Regions from separate parts of the Homo sapiens genome. Here regions 1, 2, 4 and 5 are each linked to region 3. Evidence: promoter capture Hi-C in human tissues and cell types (Jung and others, 2019). All regions are on one chromosome and are shown on one strand. The core of a region is centred on a gene start or on the middle of the fragment in contact, and the rest is flanking DNA. Distances in the headings are between cores, read along the strand shown. Region 1 holds the start of NTHL1 (nth like DNA glycosylase 1). Region 2 holds the start of ZNF598 (zinc finger protein 598, E3 ubiquitin ligase). Region 3 holds the start of NTN3 (netrin 3). Region 4 overlaps SRRM2-AS1 (SRRM2 antisense RNA 1). Region 5 holds the start of CASKIN1 (CASK interacting protein 1).

Region 1 (4,478 bases), core at 798-3,297, 420 kb after region 3:
TTGTATTGAGATAAAACATAACATGAAATACAATTTCAAACTGCACAATTTTTTTTTAGACGGAGTTTTGCTCTTCTTCCCCAGGATGGAGTGCAGTGGCGCGATCACGGCTCACTGAAACCTCCGCCTCCCGGGTTCAAGCAATTCTCGTCTCAGCCCCCCGAGTAGCTGGAATTACAGGCGCCCACCACTATGACCGGCTAATTTTTGGTATTTTTAGTAGAGACGGGGTTTCGCCATGTTGGCCAGGCTGGTCTCAAACTCCTGACCTCAGGTGATCCACCCGCCTCGGCCTCCCAAAGTGCTGGGATGACAGGCGTGAGCCACCGCACCCAGCCAGGATGGACTATATTTTATTCATCAGTTGATGAACGTTTTAGTTGTTTCTAAGTAGAAAACTTTACAAGTGCAAAAATTCAGCATTTACTCATGGGCAAAACACAATGCCAGGCATGTGTGACAAAGACACAAACACACATAAAAGATAACGACCTAGCCCATGTGCGATGGCTCATGCCTGTAATCCCAGCACTTTGGGAGGCCAAAGCGGGCAGATCACCTGAGGTCAGCAGTTCAAGACCAGCCTGGCCAAGATAGTGAAACTCCATCTCTACTAAAAATACAAAAATTAAATGGGTGTGGTGGCACGTGTCTGTAGTCCCAGCTACTCAGGAGGCTGAGGCAGGAGAACCACTTGAAACTGGGAGGCAGAGGTAGCAGCGAGCAGAGATTGTGCCACTGCACTCCAGCCTAGGCAACAGAGCAAGACTCAGTCTCAAAAAAAAAATAAAATAAAGAACCTACTTCTCCCAGGAACTCACATCTTATCATGTAACACCTGGACATATCCTTACCTGTGAAGATGATGATACTCAGGCCTCATCTATAAGATGGGCTTTCTTTCATCAACATCTGAATAGTAACTCAAGTGTGCCTGAACCAGGTCACCAAGATCCTGACTTTCGAAGTCTCCTGAGGAAGGACATGTCGGCCTCCAAGTACTGGAGACAGCATTCCTGTGTAGACAGTTGCCAGCAACCCGTCTCCCACAGAACCTGGTGCAAGACCAAACCCAGCCTTCTCTGCATTTCCCTCTAGCCTAGCAAAGACACAGGTAGCTCACTCACTCTCAGTATTTCCGCGGTGATGATAAACTCCGTCTGTTTACCCTCTGCAGACCTGGGATTTGGCCTCGGTGTTCCCAGTCCCAACAGAATCTTAAACTTCTCCTTCAAGCCTGAATCTTTGCTTGTTGGTTTGGCCATGGTGGACCAGGACGCACCAGAAAACCCCTCTGTGCAAACGAAACAGGAATGGGGACATCTGAGCAACACCTCTGCCCACCTTCCCCACTGCGGACCTCCAGCCGTCAGGACCCTGGGTCTCTGGTGGGCATAACCTTTCCTCCCACACTCCCTGGGAGAACTCAACTACAGCCCAGCTGACCAGCTCGCAAACAGGCACCTAGGAAAGCCCGGGAGACACCAGGCCTGGTCTAGAGAGCTCTCTACTCAGACGCTGCCGCCCGCCCCGCCCGACTCAGTGCACGGGTTAGGACTGCCGCCGCGAAGTCCTGGGAGCCCCGACGTTTGCCGTCTCTCCTCTACCCATGTGAAGCAGGAGCTGTCACGGAGCCGCCTGCAGCAGAGACCCGTTCGCACCCGCCATGACTTAAAACTAAGGGATGCTCGGAGCTCCGGAGTCGGGTTGCAGTGGGCGCGGGTGAGGGCCCGGGACCCGGACACTGCGGGGTCCGCCTCTCTAGGCCGCTGCCCCGTGGGGACCGCCACTTGCCCCGTGGGGACCGCCACTTACCCCGCGCCGCGCCACCGCGCTCCGGGCCGCCCCGACGCGGAGAAAGGCGCACCCCCCTGGCCCCGGGACGCCGCCGGAAGCGCGACCCGCACTTCCGGTAGCGGCATTGCGCGGAGGGCCGCCTTGGGAGCTTGCTGGGAGTTGTAGTTCTGTGCCGCCCTCTGGCGGAAAGGCCGGCGATCCTTGCATCACGTGACGGGGCCGCATGGGCCGCCGGGATGTGTAGTCCGCAGGAGTCCGGCATGACCGCCTTGAGCGCGAGGATGCTGACCCGGAGCCGGAGCCTGGGACCCGGGGCTGGGCCGCGGGGGTGTAGGGAGGAGCCCGGGCCTCTCCGGAGAAGAGAGGCTGCAGCAGGTAGCGCCGCGCCGTGGCTGGAGCGTGGGAGGAGGCGGGATAGGGGCTGCAGGCTGGAGTCCCGGGCCGCCTCCTGCGGCTCCCAGCTGCGCGGGCAGGGGCTGCAAACCCGGCAGCCGCGAACGGTTCCCACGTGCGGCCCTGCGTTCCCACCTTGCGCCTTTTTCCCAAAGATTGCGGTCCGCAGGGGCTGGGTTTCGGGCGCTCCGCTCCGCTGCCCCCTTTCGCCCCAAGCAAGAAAACGCTTCCTTTCCCACCACTCTGTCCGGGACTCTCCACTCCAGGCTCTGTGGGTCCCATCCCCGCCCTCCTGCAGTGAACTTGCTGTCCTCGGAGAGGCTGGGTGCCAAGGACACACGCAGCCAGAAGCCTGCTCCCCCAGCTCGGGGGAGGGTGCCTCTGAGGGAAAACAGGAAAGGGCATGGCACTTATTATATTTATCCTGCAGCCGTTGAGGACCTGCTGGGGGCCAAGCACTGCAGTGAGCAGTGAGGGACACGGACAGGGCCTCTGCGCTAGTCCCGCTGGGACTTCTGCAGAATTGGCCAGAGCTGGATTCCCATAGGCACCCAGGGACCCCAGGGGTAGTCCAGACTATGTCAGGAGGAACTGGTGCAGCTGGGAGCAGGCAGGTGGTGATGCCAGCCAGGGTGGCAGGAGCTTTGATGCCAGGATAGAGTTTGGAGTTTATTATGACAGTAAACGGAAGTCAATTAGGAGGTTTTGTTGTTTGTTTTGAGATCGGGTCTTGCTCTGTCACCCAGGCTGTAGTGGAGTGTTGTGATCTCAGCTCACTGCAACCTCCGCCCCCCAGGTTCAAGCAGTTCTCCTGCCTCAGCCTCCCAAGTAGCTGAGACTATAGGCCCCTGCCACCACACCCGGCTAACTTTTGTATTTTTAGTAGAGATGGGGTTTTGCCATATTGGCCAGGCTGGTCTTGAACTCCTGACCTCAAGTGATCCACCCACCTCGGCCTCCCAAAGTGCTGGGATTACAGGCTTGATCCACCGCGCCCGGCCGGCCAGGATTTTTTAAAAGGGAGTGACACAACCTGATGTGGGTGTTAGCAGACTGTCTCTGGTGCAGTATAGAAGATGTATTGGGGGCACCTTGGTACAGGCTGTTGCTAGAGTCCTCATGAGCTAACATGGACCTTGTCAGGGTCGCTGGCATAAGGAGGGCCCACATACCCCAGACTGCAGAGGGCAGAGCACCCCAAGTGTATTAGATGATGGACAGTTGTGGCATGAACGAGTGAGGGGTGAGCTAGCAGGCGGGATGGCACCCCTACCCTACCTTCACCTGTGGCCCCACCAGAGGGACTGCGTGGTGCTTTTTGCAGAAGCGAGGAAAAGCCACAGCCCCGTGAAGCGTCCGCGGAAAGCACAGAGACTGCGTGTGGCCTATGAGGGCTCGGACAGTGAGAAAGGTGAGGGGGCTGAGCCCCTCAAGGTGCCAGTCTGGGAGCCCCAGGACTGGCAGCAACAGCTGGTCAACATCCGTGCCATGAGGAACAAAAAGGATGCACCTGTGGACCATCTGGGGACTGAGCACTGCTATGACTCCAGTGCCCCCCCAAAGGTAGGCAGGGGCCCCATCTGCCCAGATGACCCCCCATCTTAGCAAGGTCCTTGTTTTCTTTCTACCCGGTGGCTTTTGGCTGGCACCCTCCCCTGCAGACAGCACCTTGGGAGGATGGACACCCGGTGCCCCAGAGCATCGCCTGCATCACTGTAGCCACTCAGCAGGTCAGGACACCAGTGGTTTAGGGCCTCGTGCTCGAACTTCTGCCCAGTGCAGGCGTGACCTGGGCTTTGTGTGATATCAGGAAGGAAGAGTTCCTTTTGCTTCACGGTCCCAGGGCCTGAAACCCTTAGACCAAGCTGAGTTCTAATCCCTATTCTGCTACCAGGTGGCTTGGATACAGGCCTCTCTGAGCCTCAGTTTGCTTGTCTGTAAAATGGGTAGTATGGGCCAGGCATGGTGGTTCAGGCCTGTAATCCCAGCACTTCGGGAGGCCAAGGCGGGTGGATCACCTGAGGTCAGGAGTTCGAGACCAGCCTGGCCAATGTGGCGAAACCACGTCTCTACTAAAAATACAAAAATTAGCCAGGTGTGGTGGCAGGCACCTGTAACCCCAGCTACTTAGGAGGGCGAGGCAGGAAAATCGCTTGAACCCCGGAGGCGGAGGTTGCAGTGAGCCAAGATGGCACCACCACACTTCAGCCTGGGTGAAAGAGTGATACTGCATCTCAAAAAAAAAAATTTGTTTTAAAGGGTAGTGTGATGATTCACGAAGCAATCAT
Region 2 (5,734 bases), core at 1,935-4,434, 460 kb after region 3:
CGCCCACCACCATGCCCGGCTAATTTTTGTATTTTTAGTAGAGATGGGGTTTCACCATGTTGGCCAGGCTGGCCTCGAACTCTTGACCTCCAGTGATCTGCCTGCCTCAGCCTCCCAAAGTGCTGAGATTACAGGCCTGAGCCACCACATCAGGCCAGCTGGCTTTAATAGGAGATTAGCGGCTGGGCGTGGTGGCTCACGCCTGTAATCCCAGCACTTTGGGAGGCCAATGCAGGCGGATCACCTGAGGTCAGAAGTTCAAGACCAGCCTGACCAACATGGAGAAACCCCGTCTCCACTAAAAATACAAAATTAGCCGGGCGTGGTGGCGCATGCCTGTAATCCCAGCTACTGAGGAGGCTGAGGCAGGAGAATTGCTCGAACCGGGAGGCGGAGTTTGCAGTGAGCCGAGATTGTGCCATTGCACTCCAGCCTGGACAACAAGAGCGAAACTCCACCTAAAAAAAAAAAAGCTGGGCGGGGTGGCTCACGCCTGTAATCCCAGCACTTTGGGAGGCCGAGGCGGGTGGATCATGAGGGCAGGAGATGGAGACCATCCTGGCTAACACGGTGAAACCCTGTCTCTACTAAAAATACAAAAAGAAATTAGCCGGGTGTTGTGGCGGGTGCCTGTAGTCCCAGCTACTCGGGAGGCTGAGGCAGGAGAATTGCTTGAACCTGGGAAGTGGAGGTTGCAGTGAGCCAAGACTGTGCCACTGCACTTCAGCCTGGGCGACAGAGACTCCATCTCAAAGAAAAAAAAAAGATTGGACCACTGGCCTCCCCCAGAGTCAACTCTGAAAGACAGAAAGCAGCCATGAGCCAAGGAGTTCGGGCAGCCTCTAACAGCTGGAAAAGGCAAGGAAGCAGATTCTCCCCTGGAGCCTCCAAATAGGAATGCAGTGATACTGACACCCTGATTTTAGCTCAGTGTGACCCACGTTAGAGTCTGGACTCCAGAACTAAAGATAATACATTTGTGTGTTTTAAGCCAAGTTTGTGGCCTTTTTTTTTTTTTTTTTTTTTGAGATGGAGTCTCACTCTGTTGCCCATGCTGGAATGCAGTGGCGCAATCTTGGCTCACTGCAAGCTCCACCTCCCGGGTTCACACCATTCTCCTACCTCAGCCTCCGGAGTAGGTGGGACTACAGGCGCCCGCCACCACACCAGGCTAATTTCTTTTTGTATTTTTAGTAGACATGGGGTTTCACCGCGTTAGTCATGATGGTCTTGATCTCCTGACCTCGTGATCCACCTGCCTCAGCCTCACAAAGTGCCAATTTCAAGCTGGGATTACAGGTGTGAGCCACCGCGCCCAGCCAAGATGTTGAACTTCTTACATCCTTACAATAACTTTTCCCAGTTTTCTTTTTTTTTTTTTGAGATGGAGTCTCACTCTGTGGCCCAGGTTGGAGTGCAGGGGCGCAATCTCTGCTCATTGAAACCTCTGCCTCCTGGGATCAAGCGTTTCTCGTGCCTCAGCCTCCCGAGAAGCTGTGACTACAGGCGCATGTCACCACGCCCCGTTAATTTTTGTGTGTTTTGGCCAGGCACAGTGGCTCATGCCTGTAATCCCAGCACTTTGGGAGGCCAAGGCAGGTGGATCAAGAGGTCAGGAGATCGAGACCATCCTGGCGAACATGGTGAAATCCTGTCTCTACTAAAAATAAAAAAAAAAAATTAGCAGGGCGTGGTGGCGGGTGCCTGTAGTCCCAGCTACTCAGGAGGCTGAGGCAGGAGAATGGCGTGAACCCGGGAGGCGGAGCTTGCAGTGAGCCGAGATCACGCCACTGCACTCTAGTCGTGTGTGTTTTTTTTTTTTTTTTTGAGATGGAGTCTCGCTCTGTTGCCAAGGCTGGAGTGCAGTGGCGTGATTGTCGTGATCTCGGCTCACTGCAACCTCTGCCTCACGGTTTCAAGAGATTCTACTGCCTCAGGCTGCCGAGTAGCTGGGACTACAGGCACATGTCACCACGCCCGGCTAATTTTTGTATTTTTAGTAGAGATGGGGTTTCACCATTTTGGTCAGGCTTGTCTCCAATTCCTGACCTCAGGTGATCCCAACCTCCCAAAGTGCTGGGATTACAGGCGTGAGCCACCACGCCCGGCCTAAAAATTTTTTTTGTGGAGATGGAGCCTGACTGTGTAGGCCAGGCTGGTCTCAAATTCCCAGGCTCCAGCAATCCGGGCCACCCAGCCTCCCAAACTGCTGGGATTACAGGCTTGAGCCACTGTGCCTGACAGCTTTTTTCAAGTGGCAAAATTGGGGTTTCAAGCCCATTTGTGTCTGTTTCTAAAGTCCAAGTTCACTGGGCATGGATCACTTGAGCCCAGGAGGTTGAGGCCTCAGTGTGCTGTGATCGTACCACTGTGTTACAGCAAGAGCAAGACCCGGTCTCAAATAAAGTAAGTAAAGTTCAGGCTCATTGATACAATTTACTGCCTCTTTTCCAGTAGGGTTTAGATCTGGACCTGCCTTCTGGATGGCAGAGGGAGGGAGGTCCTGAGTGTGCCTGGCCCTCAAGGGTAGGGAGGAGGCCCTGTTACTGCAGCATCCATCCAAACACGTCCTGTGCTGGGCCCAGCGTAAAGAGGACAGGTTCCGTTCGTGCCTTCCAGAGGCCCCTTCTGGGCAGGCCTGGCGAGACTGCCCTGGGCTGCGAGATGGACGTCACCACGTGCTGCCTTTCACGTTGTCTTTCATGTAGGGATTTAAACAGGGCATTAGGGAAGTGGAGGCGGGACCACGCTTGTGTGTGTTCCAAATACCAGAGACCGGTTTCCTAATAAGGTGGCCAGATTTAGCAAATACAAATACGGCAGGTCCACTTAAATGTCAATTTCAGATAAGGAGCAGCATTTTAGTATGAGCCTAGCCCATCAATATTTGGGCTATACTTACACTAAGACATGACCCCTTGTTCATCTGAGATGCAAACCAGTTGTGCCGTGTTTCATCTGACAACGCCAGTTCGTGGAGCCCGGCGAGTGTTGACGTGACACGCGTGGCCCAGAGGAGCCCGGGGCTGGCCGCGTGGCCGCGCGGACCTTCGAGCGGTCGGCTCATGGTAGAGCGGCCTCTATCAGGGCCACCGCTCTAGCCGGCGCCGCGCTGAGGCGGAAGTCGCGACGCGCACTTGCGCCGGGCGGGCCCGTTGCTGGGTGGGGCGGTGACGTTTGCCCGGAAGGGGCGGGCCCGCCGGGAGCCAGGCCGCTCGGCGCCACGACCGGCCGAGAGGGGGGCCGGATCCCGGACCATGGCGGCGGCCGGGGGGCGCCGAGGGGCGGCGCGCGGACATGGAGGCGGAGGCGGCGGCAGCTCCTGAGCGGGGAGGCGGGAGCTGCGTGCTGTGCTGCGGAGACCTGGAGGCCACGGCGCTGGGGCCGCTGCGACCACCCGGTGTGCTACCGCTGCTCTACCAAGATGCGGGTGCTCTGCGAGCAGCGCTACTGCGCCGTGTGCCGCGAGGAGCTGCGCCAGGTGCGGGGCGCCGGGGGCGCGGCCCGGGGGCAGCGGGGCTCCCGGCGACCGGATGGGGACTTTGCCTCACTGAGGTCCGGCCGTGGGCCCGGCGGCGCCGGCTTCCGAGAGAGGCCTGGTGGGGCCACCCAGGGCGGGGTCCCGGCCGTGCGGCTGACGGCGGGGCGTTGGGGCTTGGAGGCCGGAGGCGGCCGAGCGGGTTGCAGGAGGGGGCAAGCCCTGTGGGGACAGCCTGGGGACTTCCCCCGTGTCCCGGGGGTTCCTGCCGGGCCTCAGGAAGGGTCCTGATCAGATGGAGAACTCGGTGACCTGCTCGTCTTCAGGAGTTTATTTTCCAGGGTCCTCCATTCGAGGAAACAAGGCAAGGGGGACTCTGCGGAGGCCATCCGTCCTGGAAGCAGGGCGTCAAACTCTGGGCATTCTCAGCCCAGCTGTGTTTCTGGGCCCCCATTGGATGACCCTGAGCAAACTCCTTCCGAGACTGACGTTTTCCTCTGTGGAGTGGAGGTGACACTAGCCTCGGAAGGAGACCTGCCCGTCGGAGGGGAAGGCCCCCTCGCGCTTCTTGGCGGGAAGGGAGAAAAGTGTTAGGAAGTTGTCCTCCTCCTCGCCGCCGCCCCCCGCCTTTGGCGCTCATCTCCGCAGTGAATGGGAGACGTTTTTGACTGTACAGACTTGGAAGCCGTGGAGGGGTCAGAGGGTACCATGCAGCGTTCCTCCACCCTCACTGCACTGCCAGCTGCTGGCTGTGGGCACCTGGCTGGAGCCCGTTGGTTTGCTGAGCTTAGAGATTTGTTTGCTTCCAGCATTGTGAAATTCCCCCGGTTTGTTCATAGAAGGCTTCGGCTGGTGACATCTGCCAGGAATCTAACTTTCTTCTCCCCAGAAGTGATGCAGAGCAGTATTGAGGTGTAGGTTCTTTCTTTTTTTCCTTTTCTTTCTTTAAGTAGACGTTTACATCAAAGGAGTTGAAGAGATGCTGCAATTCTCTGAGCAATTTGTGGGCTTATAGTCTGTGCCCTTTTTGGAAAAAGACATTTGGAGATTCTATCAGTCTGTCATGTGACAGGAGGAGGCCGACCCAGACCCCGGGGAGATCTGGGGTGCAGGAACAGTCACAGAGGACCTTGGCCCGTGGCTTCCTCAGGGCGCTTCCTGGCTTTGCCAGGGCCTGCCTTGCCAGCCAGTCCTGCATAGCATGACCTCACTCTCCAACAGCTAGGTTTCCCAGCACACCTGTAGCTTCCTTCCGGAAAGAAGACGCTAAGGAGTTCTTGGCACGTGAGGTCCCGACCCAGGCTGCAGGTCTGATGCAAGACATGAGTGAACATCTGCGTATGCTTACTGTGGCAGCCTCTGCCCGCTCTCATTCCTTGTAGGCCCCACGCCCTCCAGGAGCTCTGTGGCTGGGGGCTGCGGACATGAGCTGTCAGCCGGGGTGTGGTTTGGCACTGGGTGCCCCCAGCCGGCTTCCTCTAGGGCCTACCCCGCCTTACTGGGCTGAAGGAGGGGCTCCTGGAAAGTTTGCTGTTTGCTGGTCTCCTCTCCTTTGCATTCGTTCTATTTTCTTCCCATCTTGAGCTTGCCGCCTCACTCTAGTCTCCTTTTTCCTTACTGAGTTCAGCACCATCCCCTGAATATATTCTGTGTCCCATGCGTGCTCAGGAATTCCCACTGCAACCCTCAACTCCTGAACCCTGGCGTTGCCTTGGCCTCCCTTATGGGACTAAGGTTTTGCGAAAATTGTGAGGAAAGTGTCCAGGATGCCGTGTGGAATCGGCTGGCTCCATGTGCTTGTTAGTTCCACACACCTGGACCCAGGCCTTCCCTGTGGAGGCTGCAGCTGCTGCTCAGGCCAGGAGCCAGATGGGCCTGACCCCTGGCAGGTGCTCAGGGTGGAAGCCGAGGCAGGCTCCCCTCCGTGGGAGGTGGGGGCGCTGGTCTTGGCCATGGCTGACAGAGGTCCTGGGGTGGTGGAGCCCCACGTTCTGGGCCTCTTTCCTGGCTGCGTCTTTCTCAAGGGCCGGTTCCTGCTGTTTGCATCTTGCTCTCCAGCTTGCTCTGGTCCCTGGTGTTACTGCAGGAGTCCTGATGAGGCTGCAAGCCCCCCAGGGCAGCCCACCTGCACCTTACAGGCAGGCAGTGGGAGGGGGCGCAGAGGGCCAGCCCACAGTTACCCAAGGTCCCAGGTCAGGAGGGTGACATGCTGGCTTGGGTCATGCTTTCCTACTCCTACTGCTCCCCCTCCGCCCT
Region 3 (5,280 bases), core at 154-2,653:
TGCAGGGAGGGATGGGTCAGGGGCAGGCTGGTTGTGTCCAAGGTCCCCAGGCCACCCTCCAAGGCCTCACCGAGGCAGGCGTGGGATTCCCGGGCAGTGGCCCGCTGCCATGGCCTGTCGCAGTAGAAGGGCTTGCAGCGGCCGCAGTCAGGGCCCTCGGTGCCATGCCGACAGTCGCAGATCAGGTGGCCCTGTGTGTCCAGCAGGCACCGTGAGGCATGTCCATTGCACTTGCAGCGCCCGCCCACCTGGAGGTCGGTGGCTGCGTAGGAGTAAGGGACGACGGCCTCCATGTCCCTGGGGTCACCTGCCGTGCTAGGCCTTGTGAGCACTACACGGACGTCGGTGGCGGTCACCCAGTCTTGGAGCACTGGGCTGCTGTCCAGGTCCAGGCCTGGGGGGCTGCTGTCCTGCATGCTGAAGGCCAGAAGGCCGCTGCCATCAGGCTGGGCCAGGGGTGCGGGGAAGCACAGGGCCTCAGGCCCTGGGCCAGCTGGGCCATTGGCAGGGGCAGGCAGACGGCCATAGTCCAGGTCACAGTGGGAGGAGAAGAAGCCCAGCGGGGCCCAGCTGCGGCCATGGTCCTGAGACTTGAGCAGGGCCACGGAGGCTGGGGGAGCTGAGCAGAAGCGCAGGCTCACGAAGACCAGCTCAAAAGCCTTGCCCAGGGGCACCGTGAGAGTCACGTTGAGGGGCGCCCGAGGCAGGGACTCCGAGCGCCAGCACAGAGGGCTGGCCGTGCCCCCTGGGGAAGTAAGGAGGGCGGGGGAGTGTGCCCGTCGCGGGTCGGAGGCGTCGCAGGCCCGAGTGGCCGGCCGCCCGCACGTGCTGGAAGCCAGCACCTCGCGGCCCAGGGCGGCGTTCACCAGTCCTGGCACGCAGCCGCGGGGCGCACCCCCCTCATCGTGGCAGGGGTCGGCGGGCGCCGGCGGCCCAGGACTCAGGGCGGCGAAGAGCGTGCCTGCCGTCAGCAGCAGCCCCCAGGGCCAGCCAGGCATGGCCGGAGCCGCTGCGGGTCAGCCAGTGGCCGGGCCCCAAGACGCTGCCCTTGGGGAAAAGAAGCCCTCTCCGCGGCTCTGCCCACCAGGCCCGCAATGCCGAGGAACAGGGCCCCCGGGCGGCCCCAGCCCGGCCCAGAGGTGGGAGCAGCGGCGGGCACGCCCCGGGCCCAGCACAGCAGCGGGGATGTTGGCGCGTCCTCCCGCTGGGCCTAGAGCGATGACAGGCGTCGCCCCCGCTCCCGGTGCCTCCGCCCGCGGAGGCCCCACCCGCCGCTCGCACTCACCCACCGAGGGCCGGGCGGAGCAGGTCTCCCGGCCTCCCGGGAAGGGCCGTGGGCGGGCGGGGCCTGCGGTGCACGGGCCGCCGCCTCCTCCCGGCTGCAGCGAGGGCGGACGAGCTGTGCCAGGAGGGGGTGGGGGGCGCAGCAGGCGCAAGCCCGGGCCCAGCCGGGGGCGGGGCTGCTCGGGTCGGGAAGGAGGCAGGGGAGGGGAGGGGGCCTCATCGCAGAGCTGGAATCAGAAGCAGATTCAGACGCGGGCTGGGCCAGCGGGGAAGGGGGCTGGGAGGCCCGGGAGCCAGGGGAGGGGCCGGGGAGCCAGGAATGCGCTGGCGGGAGGGGTCTGGAGGGGGGCAGCTCAGCCTTCGCAGCCCGTGGGGGACCACCCAGCAGGGTCCTGGGCCCACAGCCAGGTCTTTACTGCTCCTGGGGCTGTGCCACGTGCTGGACGGGGGTCTGGGTCGCCTCCTCCCTGAAGACCATCAGGCAGGCAAGGCCCCGGGTCTGACAGCAGAGGCCCTGGATGTTCCCCAGGTAGGGAAGCCAAGTAACCACCAGTTGAAGGGTCATCCCCAAAGCAGCATCTACTCGAGTAGAAGGAACCCAGGATTCGGTCAGGTCTAATTTTGAATCCAACTGCCCCATTTCTGGCTGCATGTCTTGGGCTCCTGTTTCCTCACCTGCCAGATGCCTGTTACTCAGCACGCGCTCTGAAGCTGTTGGATTTGATGAGTCTCAAGTGGCATCAGGCCCAAGTCGAGAGCTGCACAAATTGGAGTGTCTCCTGCCCATGTTGAGGAAGGGGGGCACCCCCATGGGCCTGAGCTGGGCTAAGACATGAGGCCAGCATCCCCTGCACCAGGCCAGATTCTGATCCCAAAGCTCCCTGGGTCTGCAAGTTTCTAGGGGCACCTCTGCCACGGGCCCAGCTGGCAGGGAGGACATGGAAGCTGGAGGGTGGGATGGGGTGGCTTCTTGGGGTTCGGGGGCTTGGTTAGCTGTTGAGGACCCCTCTGCAGGGGCAGGGAGTAGGGTTTAATCATGGGAAGGGGCTGGTCGCAACCCGGAGCCCACTGCCCTACGTCACAGCACGTTTGGGCAGGGAAACTGAGGCAGAAGCCCAGCTGGGTGGCCTGGGGACTAGCTGGGGATGGGGTAGCTGTGCCTGGGAGCGACACCACCAAAGAGGGTCCAGGAACAGCTCTGGTCAGAGAAACCTCCTCCCCTCCGACTTTCAGGTCCTTGACAGAGGAGGCCAAGCATCCCAGGGAGGGGCAGGGAACAAGTTCCGTGCAGGGCCAGCATCGAGGCCTGAATGCCCCGTTTCAGATGGGAGGCCAGGCCTGCAGCTGGTGGAGGAGGCCACGTGGGTGCTACCCTGGACACGACCAGAGATGAGCAAGGACCAGGAGGAAGAGAATGGAGAGGTAGACGCATCCCGCTGTTGGGGAGAGGAGGGGCAGGAGGACACGGAAGCCTCCTAGGGGAAACTGAAGGACCAGAGGAGGGAGCAGGAGGGCCTGACCATGGAGGGGAGGAACGGGAAGACAGGGTGATAGGGCACCTGGCTTGGCTCCTGGAGCAACTGACACTGGCTGGTGGGCACCTTCTCCTTGCCACACATCTGCATGTGACAGCCACAGATGCACAGGGATGGGGGCACCGGAGGACTGAACAGAGAGGGCTAAGGGGCTCTCTCTCTGCCACAGGGCCCCTGCCCCTCAGCTTCCTGATAAAGAGAATGGGAATTGTGTCCTTTACAAGTTGAGGGACCTCAACCTGACGGGGCTCACGCTCCGCTCTGTGGGTCAAGCTTAGAACCTGAAACGTCCCAACCACCCTCTTCAAGGTCCTTCTGGCTCCCAACCCCCACCCCCCGACACCCCACCCTAAGGGTGGGAGGAACCCTGGGGGGACTATGGGGGCTGAGATCATCATTCTGGGACAGTGGAGAGAAAAGCCCAGGCCTGACAGAGGGGTCCCACTGGCCAGAGACAAGCCTCTGGGGAAACCCAAGCTGTCTCTGGACGTCAGGGCCACTGCCAGACTGGCTGCCAGCCAGGCTGCAAGAGGGACAGTGGCCAGCAGCCTCTTCCACCCTCATCAGAGGGGCTGGCTTTGTCTCCAGCTCAGCTTCCCTGTGAGCCAGGACTGGGGTCTGCAGAACGTCTGGTGGCTTCTGGGGTGGGGGAAAGTAGGTGCCTGGGGCTCAGCCCTGCCCCAATTGTTCATCTGGGTCAGCAGCAGCGGCGGGAGGCCGTGGGCCCAGAGGGCCATTGTACCGCCAGCTCCCCAGGGAGGAGGCCGCTGGTCACAGGGCCTCTCCCCAGGAACAGTCCTCTGCACACGCTACTCTGCCCCCACCCCCAGCCCTCACAGATGGTGTTTGGGAGTTAGGAAGGGCCTCCCCACAGCGCCCAAGCGGGACTTATTGCTCCCCAGGGACCCAGCCACCTGTCCCAGCCCCTGGCTGGGGCCTCTCCCACCTCCCACCTCTCCACTGGCCCTGCCCCCTCCTGGCACCTTCTGCAACAAAGAAGCTCCGCCTCCCCTCCCCCCACCTGCAACTCAGGCCGCAGTGCTTCGCCTCCCCCTCCCCACCCCACCCCTCACCCCTAGAGTGGCAGCTCCAGCTTTGGGGCACAGGCTGGGGAGAGGGCATAGATGGGCTGGACAGTCCTAGGCGGCAGGGAGCTGAGAGTCTTTCCTGTAAGATGCCCGTTGATCCAATAATTCCCTGCCCAGCCCAGAACCTGCTGTCTCCCCCCAGACGCCTGCAAGCCACCACATGTTCACCTATTGCACATTTATCGAGCGCCTATTATGCCTCGGGGGGTTTCCAACCGAGCTCCGAAGGCAGACAGCCCAGGAGCAGACACAGCGCCGGCTCCCAACGGCGGGTGGTGTGGCCGAGCCCGCGTCGCGCTGCCCTGCACCCAGCACCCTCGCGCCGGGTCGATCCCCCAGCCTCGCAGACCGCTGCCCAGCCAGGCCGCTCTGCGGTCGCGCCAGCTCTGCGCGCCAAGTCAAAAGCTGAAATGCGACGTTGGACGGAGGAGGGAAGAGAGGGAAAGCAGAGAGGGAGGGAGGGAAACGGCCGGTGGCCTTCTCTGCCCAAAGGGTTCCAGAAGAAACGATTTGGGGATGGGGTGTGGGGGGCGGCCTCTGCGACCACGCTTGGCACTGCGCCCGCCCGGCCGGGGCGAGGTTGGAGGGAGGGGCGGCCGGCTCGCGGTGACCTCGATGGGAGGGGGCCTCGCCCGCGGCTCAGGGCGCCCCCGGCTCCCTGCGCCCGGCCCTTCGCCTCCGCCGAGCGCGCCAGCACAGGAAGGCGGCGGTCAGAAGCCCCAGGCCCGCACTGAGCGCGGCCAGCGACGAGCCCTGGGCCAGGTCCAGGCGGGGTCCCCGCAGCGAGAAGGTGATGGCCGTGGCAGCCGCACCAGCCAGCACGGCCACGGCACCGAACGGCAGAATGCAGCGAGGCCACGAGCCCCCAGCGCCGCCGGTGGCCAAGAGCAGGGCGCGCAGGGCCCCGGGGGGTTCCGGGTGCGCCAGACCCGGCCCGGGGGGCGAGGCGGGCGCCGCTGGGGGAGGCTCGAGCGCGCTCATGCCGCCAACGCGGTGGCCGCGCTCGGTGGGTGGTGTGGACGCCCGCGCAGTCCCAGTGGCGTTCCAGGCTCGCCACGTCAGAGCCCATTGGCTCCAGAGGCGGTGACGCCAGCCGGGAGCCCGAGGAGTCAGCTGCTACCTCTGGGTTTTGGCGGGGAATCGGGGTGGGCGGGCGTTAGTCCGAGGAGGCGGCTTGTCTTTCCCGCCCTGGACTCCTGTGTTGGGGCCTCCTCAGGACCCCCACAAAGCTATCTAGGCCGCCTCCCTGCTCCAGGACACCACTGTCCTCTGGGTTGGCCCCCGGGATTGGTGGATCATTGAGTCAGTGCACATCTGGCTCCCATCAGGGCCTGGCCGGGGTAGGGGGGATAGCACCCCTGTCCTCCTGAGGC
Region 4 (5,459 bases), core at 1,911-4,410, 270 kb before region 3:
AGCCTGTGGAAACCTTTGTGACCCAGGTTCGGCTCGTGGGCCAGGACACGATGCACTTCCCCTCAGCAGGGACAGTGCTCGGCACAGTGCCTGCAGCCTTCACACAGCTCAGCTCTTCTTTCTGGGAGCTAGGAAGCTGTCAGCTTAGCTCTCTGTGAGTGGGGTTTTTAAAATTCTGTTTGCAGTCAGAGCTTATGGTCCCAACACACAAATCCCCACCTATGGGCCTGTCAAGGAGGCACAGGGCCCACGCCCATCCCTCCAGGTGCCCTTCTGCAAGTGACAAGCACCCACAGCCTCAGGGGAGTCCTCAGTCCCCCAGCTGAGCGTGTTGCTCTCTGCAGGGTTGGGTGCCCGAGGTGCCTAAACCAGGGAGGAAGATCGTCTAGTGGGCTGTATGCCCAGCACCACTCAAGGCCGTAGGTGCGAATGTGGATTCCAGTCCTCGGGGGCCCTGGAGAGGGGACCTTTCCATACTTGGGGTGTAGGAACAGTGGGAGGCAGATGTAGGGAGAGGAGAGCTTGCACAGCCAGGCAGGGGCAGGAAGTAGGGGGCTGAGACGCAACGGGTGGCCAAGATGCAGTCCCTCTCCTGCAGGGGTCTCATCGACCCCTGTACACTAAAGACTCCGTCTCCATCTGTGTGTGCGGGGTTTGCTAGGTGAGGTCTCCAGTGCCTGAAGCCCTGTGTGCCAGGGCTGGGTCTACCCCAGAGCCCCACGCACCTTCCAGGTCAGCCCCAGTGGCAGTGCTGCTGTCTTCCTCTGTGATACACAGCCGCAATTCCCCCCTCCCCAGCTTCCCTCCAGGCCAGTGTGGCTGATTTTGCCCACCCAGGAATGCCCTGTGCAGAGGCCCCTCCAGGCAGGTACCTGCAGGGCTGAGGAGGGCTTGTGAGCTCCTGAGTGGCCCAATCTGCCCCCAGAGAAGGTTGGCTCCAATACCGTTACTTGATGGCAGACCAGTCCCTGTGTTTTGAGCAGAAAATGTTCCAATACAGAGCGACTCCAAATAGTTCAAAAATACAAAGCGTGTTGGGAGGAGTCTGGCTTGCTGCCCTTCCCCCCTTACCTGTCCCACCCCAGTGGGTCAGCCTGGGGTTGGTTTCTCCCATGCCTTGTGTATCTTTGGACAAACCCCCCTGTGGCTGTCTGCCTTCTTCATGGCACAGGCCAAGCTGTGTCAGGAGCATGCTGCGCTGCCCTGGCCCGGAGGGACATCTCTGTCACAGCATAAATGCATCTGTGACCTGGTCAATGGGGTCACTCTGCCCTCTGCAGCCAGGTACTAATTGTTCCCTGCCTGTAGTGCCCAGATGCCTGTTCAACAAAACTTTGCCGCCAGAGCGTGTTGCCTTTTTTTTTTTTTTTGAGATTGAGTCTCACCCTGTTGCCCAGGCTGGAGTGCAGTGGCGTGATCTTGGCTCACTGCAACCTCTGCTTCCCGGGTTCAAGCAATTCTCATGCCTCAGCCTCCTGAGTAGCTGGGATTACAGCCACATGCTACCACACCCGGCTAATTTTTGTATTTTTAATAGAGACGGGGTCTCACTATACTGGCCAGGCTGGTCTCAAACTCCTGACCTCAAGTGATCCACCTGCCTCGGCCTCCCAAAATGCTAGGATTACAGACATGAGCCACCATGCCTGGCCCAGGGTGTGTTGCTTTTTGCCTCTCTCCCCAAGAAGTTTGCGTTTCCCTGTTATGAGACTGAGGATCCTCTGTACATGAGAGGTCATTTTAATTTCCCTTCCTGTGAACTGTGTGTGCAGACCCCACGTGAGGTTCCTGTGGTTGCCGCAGCCAATTCGCACAAACCAAGTGGCTATAAACTCCAGTATCGGACCTGACGGTTCTGCGGCTAGAAGTCCAACAGGGGTCTCACCGGCTGGAACGCATGTGCCCCAGGACTGTGTTGCTGCCTGGAGGCTCTCAATGAGAAATCCATCTCCTTGCCTTCAGCTTCAAATGCTGCCTGAGACCCTTATCTCATAGCTGCCTCCATCCCCAAAGCCAGTAGTGGCGGACAAGGCTTTCCCCTGTTGCCTCTCCATGTTCTGAGGCTCCTGCCTGACCTTGCACATTTCAAGACCCTTGTGATCACACTGGGCCCCAGATCCTCAGGACACTCTCTCCATCTGAAAACCAGCAGTGGCATCCTCCCTTCTACCTCGATTCCCCTTCATCATGGGGTAGTGGTGTTCACAAAGGAATCACAGGTCCCTTCACTCTGTTTCTTTGGGGTCTTTGGCCTTCCTCTTCTCTTTTTCCAAGACGCCTGCAAATATCCAGGAAACTGGGTCTGTTTCTCATGTGACCTGCCAAATGTTTCTTTCCAGTTGACAGCATCCGTTTACACTTTACCAACGATGTTTGTTGTTTTTGTTGCAGAAGATTTCAGTTTGTAAGTAGTGAGAGCAATGATCTTGGCTTTGCATGGTGCTCAGGAAGCCTTCCCCGCTCCCAAACCAGAAAGGAATCCATCCAGATTTTCCTCCACTGTCTGGATGGCCGCTCTGTGGATGCTTCCATCTGTATCCATTGCCGGCACCTGGTGAGGTATGAGGAATGGGGCCCGGCTTTCCAAACACTCTCCAGATGCCCCACCCTCTGGATGGCTTCTGGCTGCCCATGGGGACACCGTGGACCTTAATGGTGGAGGAGCCAGGGTGAGGTGACTTGGGATGAAGTCCCATGACAGGGTCACAGGGTCGTACAGGAGGGAGCAGATTTCAGACTAGCAGGGTGGGAGCCCTGTGGGGGTCCTCCGAGGAGCAGATCCTGGTCCAGACACCCACAGAGGGCTGGGGTGGGGGTATCCTGGCCAAGGGGGTGTGGCCAGCAGCACTTTCCCTGCTCTGTGCACCCTGGGCCTCCATTCTGCGAAGGCCTGGGGATGTGCCGGTGGCAGAACCACGCGCCTCAGGAGAAGGCCCGCCGTCCTGTCGGGCATTGCCACATCCTTGCCTGGAGAAGCAGAGCCTCCCCCAGCGTCCAGCTGGCTGGCAAGTTTTCGAGGACGCTTTACACTTTTCCTAAATAAGCTGCACACTTACAGTGAAATCATCTCCTCCCTCCTAACACAGCCACCCCATACCCTAGTATTGGCTGCAGCACAGCTCTAGAGTGAGGGATGATCTCCAACACAGACAACGCAAAGCCTCCCTTCCACTCCCACGAGAAAGGCCTCTGTGGACCCCTCAGGCTCCATCCCCGGGCTGGTATCCCAGGCTCAGCAGGAGCAGTGCTGGGGGACTCTACGGGACCTCGTACCCCAGAGCCTAGAACCCCCCGTGCGGTGTGCCTGGCCCTCACTGTGAGGACTACGCCGGCCGCTTCTGCTCTGAGAGCCTTCATGTGTCCCCCTGGCTCCTTCCACCAGCCCAGGGGTAGAGGGTGGGATGCCAAGGCCTCTGGGAGACAGAACTCAGAGGGGCAGAGTCCCTGCCCAGAGGCCACCAGCAGGTCCCTGCAAAGGGCAGAGTGGGCAGTATCTGGTGTGGAGCCTGTACTCAGTGGGATGGGGCCATCGTGAGGGTCCAGGCCAGCCTGTCTGAGACCTCTGCTCACTGCTCCAGTCTGTCCAGGCCCTGGGTCTCCTGGCCCCCACTCCAGTGGCATCTTTGTGAGGATTAGATTATGGTGCCCTCCCCCAACCCCAGGTGTCCCAGCCCTCTACCAAGGCCCATGACCCAGCCCTTTAGAGTCTGGTTTGGACATGGCACCTGCTAAGCCCAGGCCAGCAGCCCCATGGGATGGACTCCCCACTGCCGGTGTCTGCCTCCTGGGTCTGAGGAATCTTTTTTTTTTTTTTTTTTTTTTTGAGGCAGCGTCTCACTGTGTTGCCCAGGCAGGACTGCAGTGGTGCGATCTCAGCTCACTGCAACCTCCACCTCCCGGGTTCAAGCAATTCTCCTGCCTCAGCTTCCTGAGTAGCTGGAACTACAGGTGCGCCACCAACCCAGCTAATTTTTCTTTTTCTTTTTCTTTTTTTTTTTTTTTTTTTGAGATGGAGTCTCACTCTGTTTCCAGGCTGGAGTGCAGTGGTGCAATCTCAGCTCACTGCACCCTCAGCCTCCCAAGTAGCTGGGACTACAGGCACATACCACCACACCCAGCTAATTTTTGTATTTTTAGTGGAGATGGGGGTTTCACCATGTTGGCCAGGATGGTTTCGATCTCCTGACCTCGTGATCTGCCCACCTCGGCCTCCCAAAGTGCTGGGATTACAGGTGTGAGCCACTGCACCCAGCCCTAATTTTTGTGTTTTTATTAGAGTTGGGGTTTCACCATGTTGGCCAGGCATGTCTGAGAATTCTACAGCTTCATTTTGTGCCTAGGGCCAGGACAGTGGAGGTTGTGGGCCACACAGCATTCCCAGGTAGCTGAAGCTTCTCTGTTGATGGAACAGCCCCAGGCACGTGGCTTGGCTTGTGGTGTGAGGGGTGGCCATTGGGTCCATTGCTGTGGTGTCACTGTTTGCTTCTCCGCACCAAGAGACTCCACCTGGGACCCGCCTGCTAGGGGCTAGCGTCAGGGTTAGGTTAGGGAGGAGGTGGCTTCATCTGAGCTCCAGGACATTGGCTGGAGCTTCCTTTGCTTTTCTGTCACGGTGTGGTCCCCAGTCCTTGGGACAAACTCACCTGAGTCCCTGAGGTTTCCCCCTCCTGCTGCCCCTGGCCTGAGCTCTGAGAAGCCTGACCCCAACCCTCCCAGAGCTTCCCTCGAGGGGCCCTTCGTAGGCTGCCCTGTGTTCACTACCCTCCCAGGTCCAAGTCTCACCTCCTCCAGAAGGCCTCCCAGGACTGCTGGCCCCAGACACAGAACTCCCAAGGGAAGGCTCTTCCACTAAAAGTCCAGCTGCAGCGATAATGATGAGTTTGGAGAGGGCTGCAGACCCTGAGGCAGGGGTTGGTGCAGGGGCTGGACCTGAAACTGGGTTCACACAACAAGCTCGGACTCCTCTTAACACTCCTGATTGGTGACATTATGGGGTCTTGGATGCCTCCTCCTCTCTGTCCCTCGTACTGCCCCTGCCACCTGGGACTCCACCAAGTTCCTTCTCCACCAGCCATGAGGAGAGCCTGCCCAGGGGCCAGCACTCTCTCCCTGAGCCTTAGAACCAGGAGGATTCTCACTGCTTCTATGTCACAGTAGGTAAAAAACACATAAAATAAAATGAAATATCATGATCACCTGAGAAGAAAGTTCAGAGTAGGCCCGTATCACGTGTTTCCAGAGAATCCACAGCTTCCCTATGAAGCCATTGCTGGCATAGGGAAGGGTGGGGCCAGGAAACAGCCGCTATCCAGCCCCTCCAGGTTGACTCAAGTCAGAGTGTGTGGGGGCCAGTCATGGAACAGAGGGAGCCTCCTGCCCAGGGCAAGCGTGGGGAGACCACCAGGGGCCCCAGACAGGTGAGCCGCTCCAGCAGGGACAGCACAGGTGGTGCATGGTCG
Region 5 (5,183 bases), core at 1,230-3,729, 270 kb after region 3:
GCACGTAGGACCCTGGAGTTTCCTGCCCAAACAGCCCCAAGCCCACTTCCAGGATCGGCACAGCCCTCTGCCCAGTCTGTCCTCCTGAAGGTGGGCCACGCAGCAGGGTGCCCACCCTAGCTCTGAGGAGCGACTAAGGGGGTGCCTGTTTATGGGGTGTGGACAGTGCTGGAGCTGAGCAGAGAACAGGTGAGGTAGCTACAAACGGGGGCCAGTTCATCACCCGAGGAATCTGAGAATTCTCAATTCGAACTTGGGCTTTCAGGCCATGATGAAGGTATATTTGTCAAGGTAGGAGAATAGAACATACTTAACAGGTGACTGGCGTGATTTGTAGCGTTTAAATATTTGAACATTTGGTGTGTGGGCTTCTGTTTGTGTGTTAAGCACAGGTCAGGGTGGTTTGCCTTAACATGTCCAAAACATAAAAGTAATAGTAATGCCAGCAGCTATCTTATTTTTATTTTTAGTTCTTCCTATGTGCTCTTCACACTGCAAGGTAGCGTAGATACAAAGATGCACAAAACACAGTTGCTGCACAGGCAGAGAGGCCCAAGAATATCACAATATCTACAGCAGCCATTTTTTTGAGCACTTACTAAGTCCTGCCGTGAAATGCTTTGTGGATAGTATCACAATTTATCCTCCAGTAACCTAAGGGGAGGTAGCATGCATATCCTCATTTTACAGAGGGGCACAGACACTTAGGCAGTGGGCTGGGTGTGGTAGCTCACGTCTGCAATCCCAGCACTTTGGGAGGTTGAGGTGGGAGGACTGCTTGAGGCCAGGAGTTCGAGACCAGTCTAGGTAACATACTGAGACCTCATCTCTATTAAAAATCAAAAAAAATTAGCCGGGCGCTACTCAGGAGGCTGAGGCGGGAGGACTGCTTGAGCCTGGGATGTTGAGGCTGCAGTGAGCTATGATGGCGTCACTGCACCCCAGCCTGGACGACAGAGCGAGACCCTGTCTCAGAAAAAAGAATGACAAAGTGACCAGCTCATGGTCACAAACCACTAAGAGGGGGAATAGGACACATCCAGAGGTGCGGGTGCAAAGCCCAGACTTACAACCTCAAGACTCTGGGACCCCAGGTGAGCCCCTTGGCTTCTCTGAGCCTCAGTTTCTTCATCTGTAAAATGGGGACAGTGAGTCCAACCTCATCTAGGAGGTGACCAGCACAGTGCCTGACCCAGCGGGTACTCAACTGGTCATTGGAAAGGGCAAGAGGAAAGGCCCTAGCATTTGGGGACCCCTCCCAGGAGTGCTGGAAGACCAAGGGCTGCTACCTGAACCTAACAGGAGACCCCACGGAGGGAACGGGAACGGCCAGCTGCCCACAGGATGCCGGGACCCCGGTGCCTGTCACCTTCCCTGTCCCTGCTGTCTGACCTCCTCTGTCCCCCTGGACCTGCTCAATGGTCTGGGGCCACACAGAGTGGGGTGCCAGGCCATGCCTCATAGAATGGGTGCGACCCTCCCCAAATTCTCCAAACGGCCTTGCCCGCTTGGGTGATGAGGGAAACGGAGCCTGAGTCGGGACTCAGACCCCCACTGATCTGCCTCTAGAATGCTGCAGGCCTGACGGGAGAGGGCCTGAGGCGCAGGGTGGCCCAAGCCTTCAGCCAGGAGCTCAGAGGGTCACAAGTCGGGGCCTCCAGCACCCAGGAAGCAGGACTCGCCTGCCTGGGCTGCAGGCTGGAGAGTGGGCAGACGTGGGCCGGGGGTCGGTTGGTGCCGGCGGGAGGTTCCAGCCCCTGTGGATGGAGATGGAGGCGACCCCCAGTCGGTGCGGGGAGTGGGGAGTTGAGCTCCCTCAGTGGGGGTGGTGGGGGCTACCTTGGGGTCAGGCTTCGGACTGAGGCTGGGGGAAGCTGTGGCGCCCGCATTATTTGCGGAGAGGAGCAGGAGGATGCTTGGGGGTTGGGGGTGCGGGTTCCCTGACACCGAATTCATTATTGGGAGATTCCTCTTCACAATCCCTCGACACCTCCCACGGGAACCCTGGGCCAGGAACGCCTGACAGCCTGGCGGGCCGGCTCCAGGGGCACTGGCGCCCGGGTCTCTCGGCGCCCGGTCCCCGCCCGCCCGCTGCCTCGGAACCGTCCCCCGCGGGTCCCGCAGCCTCTGGAAGCCTCTCTGGGCTCAGCCCCGCGCCGCCGCCGCGTCGGGGCTCCCAGTGCACCCCCGGCGGCCGCGTCCCCAGCCCGGCTAGCAGCCCCAGGCCGCCCGCGTCCGCAGAGGCCTGGCCTGAGCGCGCTGCGCGCACGTGGGGAGGGGGCGTCCCGGGGCGGGCGCGGGGAGGGCGGAGCCACGGGCCCGGGCGCGCGGCCGGCGCGGGCTGACGGAGGTCGGCGGCCCGGGAGCGGACCCCGGCGTCCGGGAGGCGGCGCCAGGTGCCGCGCCCCCGCCCCGCGCCCGCCGCGCGCCCCCGCCCCCGGGCCGCCCCCCGCCCGTGACGCGCTCCCCGCCCCCTCCGCGCCGGGAGCCCGAGCCCAAGCCGGAGCCCGAGGAGGGCGAAGGGGCGGCGGGCGGCGAGGAGGCGGCGGGGGAGGCGGCGGGGGAGGCGGCCGGTGCCGCGGGGCCGCCGCCGCCTCTGAGCCGCGCCGAGCTCACGAGCGCAGCCGCGTCGCTGCGGCCCCGGCCGCGCCATGGGGAAGGAGCAGGAGCTGGTGCAGGCGGTGAAGGCGGAGGACGTAGGGACCGCGCAGAGGCTGCTGCAGAGGCCGCGGCCCGGGAAGGCCAGTGAGTGCCGGGGGCGCGGGGCGCGGGTGGGAGCCCCGGGGGCCCCTCCCCGGCGCGGAGCCCCCCACCCGGCGCCGGGCGGGGAGGGGACGTTGTCGGGTCCCCGGGGGCGGGGCGGGGCCAGCAGCGCCCAGACCCTTGGTCCGTGCCCTCCACCCGCTGCCCCCAGCACTGGAGATGGGGCGGCCCCGAGAGCCGGCCGCCACCGTGAGCCCCGCAGCGGGCACCTGGCGGCACCCGCCTCCCGGGCCGCGGGCGTTCGCATCCCTCTCTCTCTACCTCTGTCCCCCTCCCTTCCCAGGCTGCGGGCTGACAGCTGGAGGTCTCTGCTGGGGCCTTCAAAGGGCGAGGCGGATGCCCCCCCCACCCACCACACGCACCGGGAAGACAGGGAGGGGGCCCCTGCGGCGAGGGGCGACCCGGGAGGTGACAGTCCCTAGCAGACCCCCTCCCGCCCCACGTTTAATAACACGCTTTGCAGGGAAGGTGGGGGCAGGACCACGCTGGGGGTGTGGCTGCCCTGGCATGGCCGGTGGGGTGCCATTTACTGATGGGAGAGCAGAGGCCCAAGGTCGCCCAGCCCAGGGCAGGCTGGACTCCAGGCAGGGCCGGCCTGGGCGCAAGGGCTTGGGGCCCTGCTCAGGCAGGCTCCAGCAGAGCCGGGTCTCCAGCTTCCCTGCTGGGAAAGGAGGCCATGAGGGAGTGGGGGACCACCACTGGCCATCCCCAGCTTGCCCTATGGCCGGCCCCAGGAAAGGGCTGGGAGCTTGGAGCCCTGGTCCCAGCACTCATCCTGGCTCAGCGCGTAGCCTCCCTGGGGGCCGCCGGAGATGGATGGATGGGCGTGTGGACCAGCCGCGTGTGCGGCTGCGCACGTATAGCCGTGTCAGTGTGTCAGGGCACCTGTGCGGGCACGGACAGGGCTCTGCAGGTCGGCACGTGGGGTCTGGGCGTCCTCCCTCCTCCCTCCACCCCCACAGACTGTAAGCCAGAGAGTCCCCCTCCCCTTCCTCCAGGGGGATGCCGAGAACTGGGACTGGCTTCTGGGAGATTGTTGGGGGCACCTAGGAGTCCCAGGAGGACCCCCTCCCCCGTACTTCACCAGCAGCCCATGACTGGCTAGCTCCTGTCCACTCTGTGCAGTAAGAGAGAGGGGGCACCGGTGCCTTGCAGGCTGGCCCCGAGCTGATTTCAGGTCCGGGGGCTCAGAAAGGGAGAGCTTGTGGGCAGAGGCAGCCTCAGCTGAGCCTGGAGAGCAGGTGTAGGGATTGAGGGAAGGCAAGGTAAAGGTTTCCACCTAGTGGCCGCATGACCTTGGACACAGACAACTCCAGCTCAGTGGACCTCAGTCTCCTCGTCTGTAGGATGGGATGTCAGCCTCACGGTGGGGTCCTAAGACCAGTGAGCCTGGGCACTTGCAGCCCAGGCATTCAGTAAGTGCTCAGTAAATGCCAGCAATGACCGCAGTCTTGGACGGCCCAGGGCCAGGGGCTGGGGAAGTGGGGGCTTCAGCTCTGGGGAGGTTCCTCCTCCCTTCTATTGTGGCCATTCTGGGGAGGTGTGGGGGCTTCCACTCTCACCTGGGTCTCTGCCTGTCTTGCCTGGCCTCTGGGACAGGAGAGACACCTGCCCTGGCCCCGGCTCCTGCTCTCTGACTCACAGGGGCGGGTGTAATAAATCAGAGGAGAAATCCCTCCATGAATTAGCTCCGTCGTCATGGCAACGCTGGCCTGCTTTGGAGTAAGATGTATTTTGATTCAGTAAAGTACAGCTGAGTTTGGGCCACGAGGTGGGGGGTGTCCAGCAGTATCCTCCAGGGCCCCGTGAGCCCAGGGCTGTCCCCATGAGCTTTGCTTCCATGGTCCCCTCTGGTTGCCCAGTCCCTTCCCTCCAGCCCCTGCTCCAGAGTCACCCCAGGCTCAGCCAGCCCCCGACTCGCCCTGCCCTGAAGGGAGCCTCCCGTGCCCGCACGCACACACTTAGCAGCTGTCCTTGAGGGGAAGAGGAGCCTGTTCTGGGGGAGATGCCGGTGCAGGGGCTGGCCTCCTGCTGGCCAGGAGGGACCCACTCTTCCCTCTGACCCGGACCCTATCCATGGAGGCCCCCTGTCCATGGAGGCAGGCCCAAGAATGCCGTGGAGGACACCCCTGAGCACCGAGGGCCAGCTCCCCATCCCCCTCTCACCTTCTAATAGCCCACTAGTAGCTCCCTTCTAGCCTGGGATATGGACTGGACCCCAGAGGTGGGGACAGGCTCAGGATAGCAGTGAGAGGGCTGGTCGGGGGTAAGGCCTTTACTGTCATAGAGTCACAGGGCTTAGGGACCTCGTGGAGAGGGAGGGGGGCTCCTGGACTTTCATCCTGGCCCCGGCCCCCTCCAGCCATGCTCTGCTCCTGCTTCATCCAGAGAACCCGTTTCCAGGTGAAAACAGCCCCCAG

The links. The method cuts DNA at HindIII sites, captures the fragments that hold promoters and counts their contacts. A contact is called where the count stands out against the background at its distance.
Region 1: a contact is called between the fragment with the promoter of NTHL1 here and the fragment with the promoter of NTN3 in region 3, in 1 of the 25 tissues and cell types used here (dorsolateral prefrontal cortex).
Region 2: a contact is called between the fragment with the promoter of ZNF598 here and the fragment with the promoter of NTN3 in region 3, in 1 of the 25 tissues and cell types used here (dorsolateral prefrontal cortex).
Region 4: a fragment that was not itself captured here is called in contact with the fragment with the promoter of NTN3 in region 3 in 1 of the 25 tissues and cell types used here (dorsolateral prefrontal cortex).
Region 5: the fragment with the promoter of CASKIN1 here is called in contact with the fragment with the promoter of NTN3 in region 3 in 1 of the 25 tissues and cell types used here (dorsolateral prefrontal cortex).

The regions. Positions count from the first base shown.
Region 1 is chr16:2,045,403-2,049,880 of GRCh38, reverse strand. It overlaps NTHL1 (nth like DNA glycosylase 1), which reads left to right and starts at 2,047. Exons shown (of 6, transcript NM_002528.7): 1 at 2,047-2,172; 2 at 3,515-3,753. The coding sequence starts at 2,058. TSC2 (TSC complex subunit 2) reads right to left here and starts at 1,896. Exons shown (of 42, transcript NM_000548.5): 1 at 1,816-1,896; 2 at 1,128-1,294. The coding sequence starts at 1,265. RefSeq lists a silencer at 1,633-1,862 and enhancers at 1,953-2,042, 2,493-2,552, 2,144-2,643. The HindIII fragment of the contact is 27,107 bases long and covers 1-4,478 here.
Region 2 is chr16:2,007,271-2,013,004 of GRCh38, reverse strand. ZNF598 (zinc finger protein 598, E3 ubiquitin ligase) reads left to right here and starts at 3,184. Exons shown (of 14, transcript NM_178167.5): 1 at 3,184-3,267; 2 at 3,269-3,380; 3 at 3,382-3,481. The coding sequence starts at 3,258. It overlaps LOC124903626 (a long non-coding RNA gene), which reads right to left and starts at 3,120. Exons shown (of 2, transcript XR_007064941.1): 1 at 2,903-3,120; 2 at 2,417-2,697. RefSeq lists silencers at 780-975, 3,066-3,285, 3,376-3,805, 3,816-3,885 and enhancers at 2,826-2,985, 2,510-3,458, 5,358-5,734. The HindIII fragment of the contact is 21,988 bases long and covers 1-5,734 here.
Region 3 is chr16:2,467,420-2,472,699 of GRCh38, reverse strand. It overlaps NTN3 (netrin 3), which reads right to left and starts at 1,403. Exons shown (of 6, transcript NM_006181.3): 1 at 71-1,403. The coding sequence starts at 998. TEDC2-AS1 (TEDC2 antisense RNA 1) reads left to right here and starts at 4,487. Exons shown (of 1, transcript NR_135198.1): 1 at 4,487-5,280. RefSeq lists silencers at 1,126-1,265, 4,529-4,578, 4,589-4,928, 4,989-5,038 and enhancers at 3,199-3,278, 3,439-3,578, 3,538-4,081. The HindIII fragment of the contact is 12,116 bases long and covers 1-5,280 here.
Region 4 is chr16:2,740,652-2,746,110 of GRCh38, reverse strand. It overlaps SRRM2-AS1 (SRRM2 antisense RNA 1), which reads left to right. Exons shown (of 6, transcript NR_027275.1): 3 at 2,392-2,559. Among named protein-coding and RNA genes, the nearest start is that of SRRM2-AS1, 9.2 kb to the left of the region's middle. The HindIII fragment of the contact is 3,657 bases long and covers 1,332-4,988 here.
Region 5 is chr16:2,193,901-2,199,083 of GRCh38, reverse strand. CASKIN1 (CASK interacting protein 1) reads left to right here and starts at 2,479. Exons shown (of 20, transcript NM_020764.4): 1 at 2,479-2,745. The coding sequence starts at 2,652. The HindIII fragment of the contact is 36,898 bases long and covers 1-5,183 here.